Linked DNA regions of Homo sapiens: regions 2, 3 and 4 are each linked to region 1. Evidence: promoter capture Hi-C in 16 types of primary human blood cells and fetal thymus (Javierre and others, 2016). All regions are on one chromosome and are shown on one strand. Each heading gives the region's core, a stretch centred on a gene start or on the middle of the fragment in contact. The rest is flanking DNA. Distances are from core to core; before and after follow the strand shown.

Region 1 (3,112 bases), core at 213-2,712:
ATTCTGGAATAATCTCCCTGGTATTTGTGATAGCATTTATTTTATAAAACACATTTGATAACAAGAAAAACATAGGTCTATTTCTGTTAAACACAGGCAAGCAAAAGTCACATGTAAAAACACAGCTAGACAGAACATCTAGGGCCTTCACAAGTATCTGCTTTAATTAATGTTGGTAAACAAAAAGACCCAATGCAGTGACACATTTGCAAACATTATATCTAAATCCAACTAGATCACAGTTTCCCAGTCAATATAGCTTAAGTTTCTCTGAAAACAAAATAGTTTATATATTACGAAAAACAAAAAAACACAGTTGGGCTCAGTGGCTCATGCATGTAATCCCAGCACTTTGGGAGGCTAAGGTGGGCAGATTGCTTGAGCCCAGGAGTTTGAGACCAGTCTGAGCAAGGAAATCCAGTCTCTACAAAATATAAAAAAATTAGCTGGGTGTGGTGGTGCATGGTCTATAGTCCCAGCTCCTCGAGAGTCTGAGACGGGAGGATCACTTGAGCCTAGGGAGGTTGAGACTGCAGTGAGCCACGATTGCATCACTGCACTCCAGCCTGGGTGACAGAGTGAGAGCCTGTCTCAAAAAAAAAAAAATAAGAAAAATAAGAAACCCCTTTTCATAGTGATGAAGCAATCAGCTAACTGCTAAAGAATCTTCACAGGCGAGGCTGGGTACGGTGGCTAATGTCTATAATCCCAGCACATTGGGAGGCCAAGGTGGGACGATTACTTGAGGTCAGGAGTTTGAAACCAGCCTGGTCAATCTAGCAAGACTTCCTCTCTACAGAAACGAAAAAAATTAGCCAGGCACCCTCACGCTCAGTGCCTGTAGTCCCCGCACTTTCAAAGGCTGAAGCAGGAGGATCCTTTGAGCCCTGGAAGGTCGAAGCTGCAGTGAGTTGTGATCGCACCACTGCACGACAGCCTGGGCGAAAGAGTGAGAACCTGTCTCAAAAAAAAAAGAGAATCTTCACAGGCATCCCTTCCTCCCAAGTCTCCTCACTTGTCTTATCTGAAGGTTTGTTCCCCAGAACTATGAGAACCCTCTACATCTCTTTCTCTCAGCCCAGCCAGGTTCCTCTGGGCTTGAGTCCTACATCCCTGGCCTCAGCTACAAGGTGAGTACAGTCTAAGGACCAGCTCCTCTCATTGTCTATTTCACTTATTTATTAAAAGTGTAGACCTAAAGTGTCTACTTCATCCTCTCTTGCCTAAAGTGGGTATATCTGGAAAAGTCTGTAGCCACAGAGGAGATTTTCATCTTAGAGTTATGAGGTCTCTTTGAGAGACTCTCCATTCCATTGAATAAGCATGGCTTAGATCTCTCTGGACAATCTGTACTTACCTTGGGAGTTAAAAGATTCCACAGGGTTGAGATGCTGAAAAGATGAGAAAGTTCCAGGAGCTCTGATCTACTTAGGAGTCCCTGCAGTTTGGCTGAGGACAGTGGTAATCCTCAAAGGCTAGAAATGGCTTTCAAATCTGAGCGCTCTGCAGAACAAGTCCAGGAAAAATGCTGCTTTGGTATTTCTGAGAATGAAACTAGAAGGTTGCCGCCTTTTTAAAGTTTCCATTTCTCAGAATTCTCCTACTCATTTTAGGCCTGCCATTCTAGCCTCAAGGGGGGAATATGTGCTATTTCCTGTTTATCAATAGACTAAGTGGGCCAAAGACTAGTTCTGGCTAAAGACTAAAGAAACTTTATCAGAAGAAATGCTTCAAACACTTTGGAGAATAATGCTACAAAAAAGCTTTTTTGGATACACACCAAACTGTTATTAAGGATTACTTTCTCAGAAGTAGAACTGGAGAGGAAGAAGATGGAAAGGGAGGAGAGAATTGTTACTTTGTACAGTAGGCCTGAGTTACTCAACAAATATTTTTTATTGGCAAGGAAAAGGGAAAAAACAAAACAAAAAGAAACAGTGAAAGAGCCAGAAAGGAAATTAAACAGTGCATCTCACTGACTTTCTCATTCAATTTTTATAGTAGCCTCCATAATCCTAATAGTTGTTGTAATTAGAGCCGAGATGGATTCACTGCTATTAATTTAGCTGCTAATACTGTTGCTATTGTTCTGATCAAGTTTCTGCTACTTTTTGACCTGCTGTCTCCCTCAACAGCTGTAGGAGTCACAATTCCCTTGAGCTCTTGTTGGTTTCTTGTTCCATTTTTTTTGGGTTTCTATCCTTATACATTGAAAAAATTATTACAGTGTGGATTTAGCAATCATTTTTAGCTATAAGAAAAGGTGCTGTGCACTAGAGGGAATTGAATTAGAGATGTCATTCGTTAATCAGATAATTAGTTCCCAATCTTGGCTGCTTGTTCAAATCTTTTGGCATGCTTTTTAAAAATTCAGATGCTAAGGTCCTTCCCCAGACATTCTGAATTATACTGTCAAGTAGTGGTGCAATATCAGGAGGTAGAGACATATCACATATACACAACACACACATATAGGCATAAACATAAAGACAGACACAAATAGATCTTATAATTTTCATTTAAAATCTTAGCCATGATTAGGTATACATAAACACAAAATTTAATAATTTTGATAAAAATTGATTCTCATCTTTGCCTATTAATATTTTCTTTCGATCTCATCTTTCCATAGACATTTGTTTAGGATGACAGCTTTCTTTTAAAAAAAAATCCTTTTAGATATAAAAGTTCAAATCTTCAAAGGTATACCTGTCTTAATTGTGACTCAAAACCAGTAAGTTTTTATGGCTTAAAACCTATAAGCCTTTTATCACTTAACCATGGATGTAAGAGACATCCCCAAGGAGGATGCAAACCATGCAGCCCTTTTGCCGGGCGCGGTGGCTCACACCTATAATCTCAGTATTTTGGGAGGCTGCGGCGGGCAGATTACTTGAGGTTAGGAGTTCAAGACCAGCCTGGCTAATATGGTGAAACCCTGTCTCTACAAAAAATACAAAAATTAGCCAGGCCTGGTGGTGCATGTCAGAAATTTCAGGTACTCGCGAGACTGAGGCGGGAGAATCACTTGAGCCCGGGAGGCGGAGGTTACAGTGACCAAGATCACGCCACTGCACTCCAACGTGGGCGACAGAATGAAACCCTGTACTCA
Region 2 (2,951 bases), core at 452-2,951, 91 kb before region 1:
ACCCATTCCTCAGTTGTCAAGGGGCGGATGTACTTCTCCCTCACCATCCATGACTTGGGAGCTTCCGAGAACACCACACAACAGAATGCCTTCACTTTAATCACACAGAGATAGCCATACAACTCTTTCCCACAAAACACTTCTACGATTTTGGTGCTGTACTCTACCCGAGGTTTTGAAGAGCAAAAATGAACAATGGGCAACTTAGAAATTGCTCTTGCAATTACATTTTTCAAAGAGTCAGGGTCAACCTGTTCTTTGGCACATCCCAGGACTTTCCTACTCTTATCATCCACTCCAATAAAAAGATAGCCTCCCTCAGTGTTTGCAAATGCAGAGATGTACTCTGGAATTATATTTTCTACATATTGTTGGATATGTTTTGTAGAGAACTGTTTAAACTCTATGGATGGAGACTCAGGAAAAGATAGGATTTCACCATATTCAATAGTGTCAGTTTGGAAAACTTCATATGCAGGATTTGACTCAGATATGTTCTGGTATACAGCTTTCATAATTTTACTAGGTGGAGACCCTTCATTAATCAGATTATATTTGGACTGTCTTTCCTTGGTCTTCAGGAAATCGAATGCCTGTCTTGAATTCATGTGAAGCACAGAGGTGCCAGATCTACAGTATAATGAAGAACTAAGGCTGCAAATGCGGGAATTGAAAGAACCATCTTTAAGGAAAGGATCACCACTCCAAGATTTAACAAAAATATAAAAACACCTTCCGTGTTGCTTAGTCTCAAAGAAAGCCTGCAAATATGGATACTGAATAAGCTTTCTCAAGGATTCTTCTAAATCCAGTCCCATCTCTGTGGGACGCTCATCCCTGTTGGCCATTTCCATCTGAATCACTCCTCCTCCTGAGTTTAATAAAGCACACGCGGCCCGTATAACTCTCGCCCTCTCTTGGTCTCTCTGAGTTTTCTGTAGCTTTTTTCTGTTTTCTTCTCCCAGAGTCACTTCTCCGACATCGATGACCAGGTCTGGGTAAGATGGATACACACCCAGGGAGCAGTGATTTGCCTCCATGTTGAACTTGCACCTTAAAGTATTAGAATATTTGTTTCATTTTTGATTAAAAAATTGTTACAGGCCTGCAATTCATTTATTAGAAAATATTTAAAACGTGTCTAATATGTGCTGGGATAAGACAATAGCAAGAAAGACAGGTATAGTCTCTTTAGGAGCTGACTGGCTGGCAGGGAAGGGAACTAATGAAATTAGCCTTTACCATCATCTGTGACATGGGCTCTAAGAGGGAAAACACATTGAATAGGGTATCTGAACGAATCTGGAGACCATGGTTCCATAAGACTTCCAGGAGTAGGTTCCATTTAGGCCAAGACTTAAAAGATGCACTAGAACTGGCCAGGTGAAATCATTAGCATTGAAACACAGAAGTAGTGGATCAGCTGAGGGGCATGTGTACCATGGCATGAGAACATCTAGGTTTGGAACAGATTCTCCATGAACATCAACTTTAGAAGATAAGTAAAAGAAGACCACATTGAAAAGGAGACTGTAGAAAAGTCTGAGTATGAAAAATCAAAGAAGTAAGAGAAAAATCAAGGGTATTTGGTATTAACAAAGCCTGGAACAAAGTCACCTGCCAAGGTTTTAAGATGTCTAATACTGCTGACAGATACAGCTAGGTAATGACTGGAAAGTGTTACTAAACCTAAGTTTAGTAAAATTAAGGTTAACTGTGACTTTGAAAAATGCTCTTCAGACACCTGGGAAATGGGCATCAGGAGGCAATAAACCAGGGGCTAAGGTCTTGGAGAACAGAGTCAATGAAGATGGCTTGAATTCCAGTTCTGCCATTTAGTACTGTTATATTAGTCTAGATATTTACTCTTTCTAACTCTATTTTCTTACTATAAAACATGGTGCAGCCACCTGTGACTGTTATTATGAAGATTAACTCAGATAGTTTACAACAAGCATTTAAAACTATGCTTTGGTTCACAGGTGTTCAGCAAAGGAACCTATATTAATTGACATTATTTTACAATGGGTTGAGGAATGAATGAGAGGTAAGGAAGTAGCATCATCAAGTGTACACCTGCTGTCTTCTTACACCAAAATCAGTCCTGAAGTACCTGTAGGCAGAAACATGTTTAGAGAGAGGCAGCAGAGTTCAGAGGTCAAGATTCAGAAATAAAGGCTGGGACATTCACAATCTTACCAGTTTGCCTAATTTAGACCCTTGCCTAGAAATTTCTACCGTCAGGATTCTGTCTTGCATTCCGAGACCACTGAAACATCTTTGTCAAGTTACCTGTAAAATATTCTTTTTGATATATGGGGACTTCAAAGTTAAATCTTTTCTCTTTACCCCCATGAACTTTATTGTTAAAGCCTAGATAAGCTGATAGTTTTTCATTGGTAACTGTATTCAAATGGCAACCCCACCCATATCTTTTGCAGGCAGAAAAGTCTTAGGGAGCTCTATCCCAGCTCTTCCTTTGGGTATAAAGGTATTATAGTCAGTGCTACTTGCAGATTCTTTGTAAGGTAGAGATATTGTTTCCTAAATAAAATTGAAACCCTAAATAAAACTGAACTATTCAATAACAAATTGAGAATTCAGGTGAAAAAAATCAGGAAGCTTACCAATATATTTAACAAAAGCAACTGATTCTGTTGTATTTACAGAATAACTTTGCTAGAATTCCTTTCTTAATGTAACCAGACTTCCCACCAGCACAGTGAATGCCCACCGCCTGCTGTCTTCTTCCACCAAAATCAGTCCTGAAAGACCTGTATGCAGAAACATGTAGAGAGAGGCAGTAGAGTTCAGGGGTCAAGATTCAGACTTCTTTGAACCCCCCCTACACATGCATGGGAATAATTAGAGATAATTCTTGCCCTTGCTTCTCTGTGGAAATTGATGGAAACAGTTTCGCCTCCTACACAGGTATACTGTAGGTAAAATCA
Region 3 (2,956 bases), core at 307-2,806, 110 kb before region 1:
ACCCAAGCCAAATGCATTCCTGTTGCGAATCCCCCGCTCTCAACTTGGTTCAGCCTCCACCATGAACTGGATCCATTCCTTCCTGGTCAACTGCATCACACGGTTATCTTTCACATGCCAGGAATCAGGCTCTTTAGCAAACACTGCACAGCAGAAGCGCTCCACTCTGAGTGCACAGACATATCCACAAAGACTTCCTTTATCATATACTCCAAGGAATTTGCATGAATAATTTATCTTCTTCTTCTCCATACAGAAGTGATGCACAGGCATCTTCCTAATGGACTTTTCGATTTCTCTTTCTAAGTCATCGAGGTCACTCATCTCTGCTTTAAAGCCAATTATTTCTTTATCTTCATTTAAACCAATGAACAAATATCCTCCATCAGTATTTGCAAATGCAGAAACATATTGAGGGAGAATCTCTTTAATTCGTTGTAACAACTTTTCTGTCGAGAAGTTTTTAATTTCAACATGTGTGGATTCAGTAAAGGTCAATTTTTCTTTCCGATCAAGTTCTGTTCTATCAAAAAAAACCCCGGCCAAGGCCTTCATGTTATTTTCTTCTTGTATATCAACACAGGGCCTCTTTGCCAGCAATTCTGGTCTTAAATACAATCTCCCTCTAGTCTTTTTCATGTCTTTGAGGAACTCCAGTGCAGCAGTGGCATTCATGACTTTTGCAGATGTTATATCTCTTTTGTACAAATTGGAGCTCAAGGTGGTAATCCGCAGACCAGAGGTGTTCAAGCTCCATGACTTCACAAAAATCAGAAAGTAGTTACCATTCTGCATGAAGTCTAAGTACTCAGGAACAAATAACAGAATGTTACTAAAAGAATTTTCCAAATCTAGTCCTATTCCATCTTTTGTATAACTATAGTCTTCATTCTCAATTTCAGCCTTGATCACTCCCCCTCCAGAATTGAGCAGAGCACACATAGCTCGTGAGACACTTTCATTCTGCTTTTTTCTCAGTTTACAATCCTTCATTTTTTTCCTACTGTTCTCTCCAAGAGTGACTCTTCCCACATCTAGAACCAACTCGGCATAATTCGTTTCCAAATCAACACTGATGTTCATTTTCCCAGCAGCTATGCAGTGTCCAAGCAGAAATTCTTTTCTGTAAAATAGACAGAGCCATTAGAATAGGACCTGAACTAGAAAGATAGCAAATTCTGTATTATGAGGCAAATGCAAAAAAATCCTGTGCTGTATATATTCTACTAGACTGGTAAGTATATGGATATGAAGAGACTGGCAAATTTTGAGCTAAGACCGCAATAATTTATACTCCTACTGAATTTTCAAATTTGTTACTATAGTTCTATATAATGTATTCTAATTATGTAATCTCTTTATCCGCCTTTTTTCTCCTTTCTAGTCCCTAATATTGTACAACCTGTTTTCTCTCTCCTTTTCTTAAACAACCCCTGGAGTGAGTCTATGTTTTTATCTTCTCAGTGAACCAGGCTTTAGTTATACATATTATTTCTACTTTTCTTTTTATTTTAATAATTTCAGCTTTTACCTTAATTATCTCCATTTATGGGTATAAATCTTTTGGAAGATTTCCCGTTAAGGTCTAATGACATCCAACATGTCATGTTAATTATTTTTCCTTCTTATAAGAATGAAATAGATTTATAAATTTTGGCCATTGATCTTAAGCAAAGTGGGCTAAGTCATTGTGCCCTTTTTAAATCTAATATCCACATATTTTCAATAAGGAAAATTCTTATATACAAAACACCTGTGCTATGGTTTGAATGTTTGTGTTCCCCCAAAATTCATATGTTGAAATTATAACTCCTGAGGTGATGAGGTTTTTGGGAAGTGATCAGGTTATGAGGGTGAAGCCCTCATGAATGAGATTAGTACTCTCCTAAAAGGGACCCCGGAACACTAGCTCATCCCTTCCACTATGTGAGAACACAGCAATAAGTAGGCAGTCTGCGACAGGAAAAGGGCCCTCACCAGAATCCAACAGTGCTGGCACCTTAATCTTAAACTTCCCAGCCTCCAGAACTGTGAGTCATAAATTTCTGTTATTTGTAAGCCACCCAGCTTGCGGTATTTTGTTATGGCGGCCTAAACAAACTAAGACATTGTGCTTTAGTCTATGTATCCCTAATCCATTAGCTCTGTTCCCTTAAAATCTATTAGGATCACTGCTTTGCTCTAAATGGAAACTTTTAAGTTAAGAAGTGTAACTTAAGTTTAACTTTTTTTTAAGTGTAACTTAAGTGTAACTTTTTAAGTTAAGAAGTGTGACTTAAGTTTAACTATTTTTAAATGTAACAAGTGTAACTTTTAAGTTAAGAAGTGTGACTTAAGTTTAACTTTTTTTTAAAGTGTAATTTAAGTGTAACTTTTAAGTTAAGAAGTGTGACAAGTTTAACTTTTTAAAAAAAGTGTAATTTATGTGTAACTTTTAAGTTAAGAAGTATGACTTAAGTTTAACTTTTTTAAAAGTGGAATTTAAGTGTAACTTTTAAGTTAAGAAGTGTGACTTAAGTTTAACTTTTAAGTGTAACTTAAGTGTAACTTTTAAGTTAAGTTAATAAGTGTAACTTAAGAAGTGTAGGTTTTCCGAGTGGCATAGAGACAATTGAGAATAAAGTCCATCATAGGTAGTAATTGCTATACTAGAAAAGGAATGTAAAGGGGGTCAGAATATTCCTGTCCACAGCTGGACCAATATCATGCAGATACTCAGCTAAGGTTGTGGATACCACCTGTGTCCATATAAATTCCTGATCACATGTAAACAATGTTAACATTAGAGCCCCAAACCATTTGGACAGTTGGGGTTGAATCCTTTAGTTCTTTGTCCATGTTTTCTCTTAGCTCTTTGAAGATACTTAAGACAGTGCCTGTTTTTTATTTTATTAATTTATAAATAAAATCCTATATATTGATCATGTACAATGTGTTTTTTTGAAACTTGTATATA
Region 4 (2,925 bases), core at 388-2,887, 71 kb before region 1:
AAAGATATCAAACGTATATCTAAATTAAAACAAACATCCATAATTTCACCCAATTGGAAATCGAAAATTTGTATACCAAAGAATTTATATAACAAAAAGATAGCTAAGGTCGTGATTGGGTTTAGAACTGTAAGGTTTTTTGTTTTCTGTTTTTTGCTTTTTTTAGAGAGAGATAAAGTCTTGCTCTGTCACCCAGGCTGGAGTGCGGTGGTGCCATCTTGGCTCACTGCAACCCCCGCCTCCCAGGTTCAAGTGATTCTCCTGCCTCAGCTTCCCAAGTAGCTGGGACTACGGGAGCACACCACCACATCCAGCTAATTTTTGTATTTTTTAGTAGAGATGAGGTTTCACTATATGTTCGCCAGGCTGGTCTCGAACTCCTGGCCTCAAGTGATCCGCCTGTCTCGGCCTCCCAAAGTGCTGGGATTACAGGCGTGAGCCACCACGCCTGGCCAGAACTGAAAGCTCTAAATTAACTTTAACATTTGCCAAAATGCACCAATTGAGAAACCTCGTGGACTTAATAAATACTCAAATTATACTTATGCCTGAGGTTCCAACAAATTTAAACATTGTACCCCATATAATTTTAAAAGGTAGCTAAATAGCTTTTTAAAAATAGCTATGCCTTATTTTATATCTTGATTGAATTGCTCATAGTTGTTGTACTCAGTGCCTTAAAGTATCTCGTATTGAACATAGACTCCATGTCACAATAAATAATAAATTAAAATTAAATTTTTGGCACTCAAAAATTGGCTTGATAAAATAGGATTATATAAATCCCATTAAAATAGTTAATATGGTTCAATGTAAGTTAAAATAGGCCCTTGAAGGATTGAAAGTTGTTACATAAAACCTCATTTATATAACATAAAAGGGATAAAGGAGATAAGTATTCCCTGCTGCTTGTCCGTTTAACAGCCCAGTGTTGCCTGTTCTTAAACCTGGAAAATAATAAGCAGCAGGCACCTCACGGTGGAGGACTACAACATTATTGCTGTGGTCTTGTCGACTAGGGCCTCATAGCCAGTATCTAGTATGATTAACATTATTAACTCTATCCAATCAATAACTGCTAAATACTCTGTTCTTACAGACTTGGCTAATATGTTCAATATGTTCAATTCCGTGCCTATTTCAACAGACTCCACTGTAGTTTGCCTCCATTGCTGAAGAGACACAATATACCTCTTGCAGGCTACACCTCAGTACCTTCACAATTTTGCCATCATGCACACATCTTACAGACAAGATCTTTTTTAATACTTAATTTTTCTAGAGCAGATTCACAGCAAAATTGAGCGGAAAGTACAAAGATTTTCCATATACCCACTGCCCGCACTCATGCATAGCCTCCCCCATTAGCAACATCTCCCATTAGTGTGGTACATTTGTTACAATTGATTAATCTAAATTAATACATCATAATCACTCAAAATCCATTGCGACTTTTACATTAGCGTTCATTCTTCTTGTACATTTTATGGGTTCAGACAAATGTATAATGACATATATCTACTATATAGTATCAAACACAGGATTTTCATGGCCTTAAGAATCCTCTGTGGTTCAACTATTCATTCCTCCCACTCCCTTAATCCTTGGAAACCACCGATCATTTTACTGTCTCCATAATCTTGCCTTTTACAGAATGTCATATAGTTGGAATCATACAGTATATAGCCTTTTCAGATGGCCTTCTTTTTAAAGAGACAGGGACAGACAAGATCTTAAGTGCATGCACCTTCCTCTGGGAGCACAGATATGATATTACATTAATAACCTCCTCCAAGGAGATGTCACTTAATCTACTCATATGGACATAAGAGTCCAACATCTTTTCATCCTTTTTGGGTTTTCATGGCAAAATATTCTTCACTTACAAATTTTACTTAATCTCATTGAGCTGTAACTCACAAATGAACCCACTTTAAATGTGGCAGCCTCAAACAAAAAGGCTCTAAAATCTATCCAAATTAATACCAACAGACAGACCCATTGGTGCCTGCATTGATTCCTTTACTGAAGAGACTTTAACAAGCTCTACTCATGCCTCCTAAAGTCTAGACCACCTGTGATGGCTACGAATTGCCTGAGGGCTCTCAGCCTCATGCTATATGCCATTAAAACCACAAATGACTAGCTCCATACTGGGCTCTCCTGGACATAGAGGCTTTCACAGATTCTGAGTCTGTGACCCTCCATACCTGGCTACCTGTTATGCTTTCAGTCATGGAAACAGCACCCTGCAAGCTCAGCCTCTCAGAGGGCCCAGGTTTGTCTCTAACCTGTCTCAAGGAGGCTACCAAGTCCTGGGCTCTCTAGCATATTCACACGCAGAAGGGAGTGACGTCCCCAGTCCTTGGTCCCTTGCCAGATGCCATAGTGCTGGAGGAGGTCACCTCTCCTCCAGACCCCTTGGTTACCTGGAAAGCTCCTTTGGATTGACTGAGTGAACAGCAATAGAAGTTCACGGACTATATGAATGGCACTGCCAACCACCATACATGATGGAGCTAGGTGGAATATTACCGAATGCTGGATGCCCTGGCCAACAAATGGCCCCATCTCCATATTCCTTTTGAACAATTGAGCCATTGCCTAATGAATTGTCCCTTTCAGATTAAGGAACACTAAGAACCTCTTTCCTCTTAGATACCCAAAATCACGTGTCTATGTATATTAAGGCCACCATATGAGGCCTTACAATTACCAAGGTAATAACCAAGGCACACATTTCACATTGCAAAATACACACTGAATGGGCTCCCGAAACAAACAGGCATTCAATAAAACTTTCATGACCCTAATAGGTCCCAAATAGCCAGTTTAACAGAGAGACATAAGAGTCTCCCCAAACAACTTCTTTTAAAGTTCCAGTCCAACAAATGGACCTCTCAATGGGTCTTTATCTTGCCCCAG

The links. Contacts are between HindIII fragments. The CHiCAGO score rates a contact against its expected background, and 5 or more counts as called.
Region 2: a fragment that was not itself captured here is called in contact with the fragment with the promoter of SLFN12L in region 1 in 7 of 17 cell types (total CD8 T cells, non-activated CD4 T cells, naive CD8 T cells and 4 more); the score reaches 12.7 in total CD8 T cells.
Region 3: a contact is called between a fragment that was not itself captured here and the fragment with the promoter of SLFN12L in region 1, in 6 of 17 cell types (total CD8 T cells, naive CD8 T cells, total CD4 T cells and 3 more). The highest score is 9.3, in total CD8 T cells.
Region 4: a contact is called between a fragment that was not itself captured here and the fragment with the promoter of SLFN12L in region 1, in 4 of 17 cell types (total CD8 T cells, naive CD8 T cells, total CD4 T cells and 1 more). The highest score is 8.2, in total CD8 T cells.

What each region holds. Positions count from the first base shown.
Region 1 is chr17:35,536,216-35,539,327 of GRCh38, forward strand. It overlaps SLFN12L (schlafen family member 12 like), which reads right to left and starts at 1,463. Exons shown (of 5, transcript NM_001363830.2): 1 at 1,358-1,463. RefSeq lists an enhancer at 791-870. The HindIII fragment of the contact is 3,143 bases long and covers 1-1,761 here.
Region 2 is chr17:35,444,641-35,447,591 of GRCh38, forward strand. It overlaps SLFN13 (schlafen family member 13), which reads right to left. Exons shown (of 6, transcript NM_144682.6): 2 at 2,628-2,774; 3 at 1-1,053. The coding sequence starts at 1,040. Among named protein-coding and RNA genes, the nearest start is that of SLFN13, 2.6 kb to the right of the region's middle. The HindIII fragment of the contact is 1,837 bases long and covers 784-2,620 here.
Region 3 is chr17:35,421,946-35,424,901 of GRCh38, forward strand. It overlaps SLFN12 (schlafen family member 12), which reads right to left. Exons shown (of 4, transcript NM_018042.5): 2 at 45-1,123. The coding sequence starts at 1,083. Among named protein-coding and RNA genes, the nearest start is that of SLFN12, 9.1 kb to the right of the region's middle. The HindIII fragment of the contact is 5,564 bases long and covers 1-2,956 here.
Region 4 is chr17:35,464,726-35,467,650 of GRCh38, forward strand. It overlaps SLFN12L (schlafen family member 12 like), which reads right to left. Exons shown (of 5, transcript NM_001363830.2): 5 at 1-2,925. Among named protein-coding and RNA genes, the nearest start is that of SLFN13, 17 kb to the left of the region's middle. The HindIII fragment of the contact is 5,564 bases long and covers 1-2,925 here.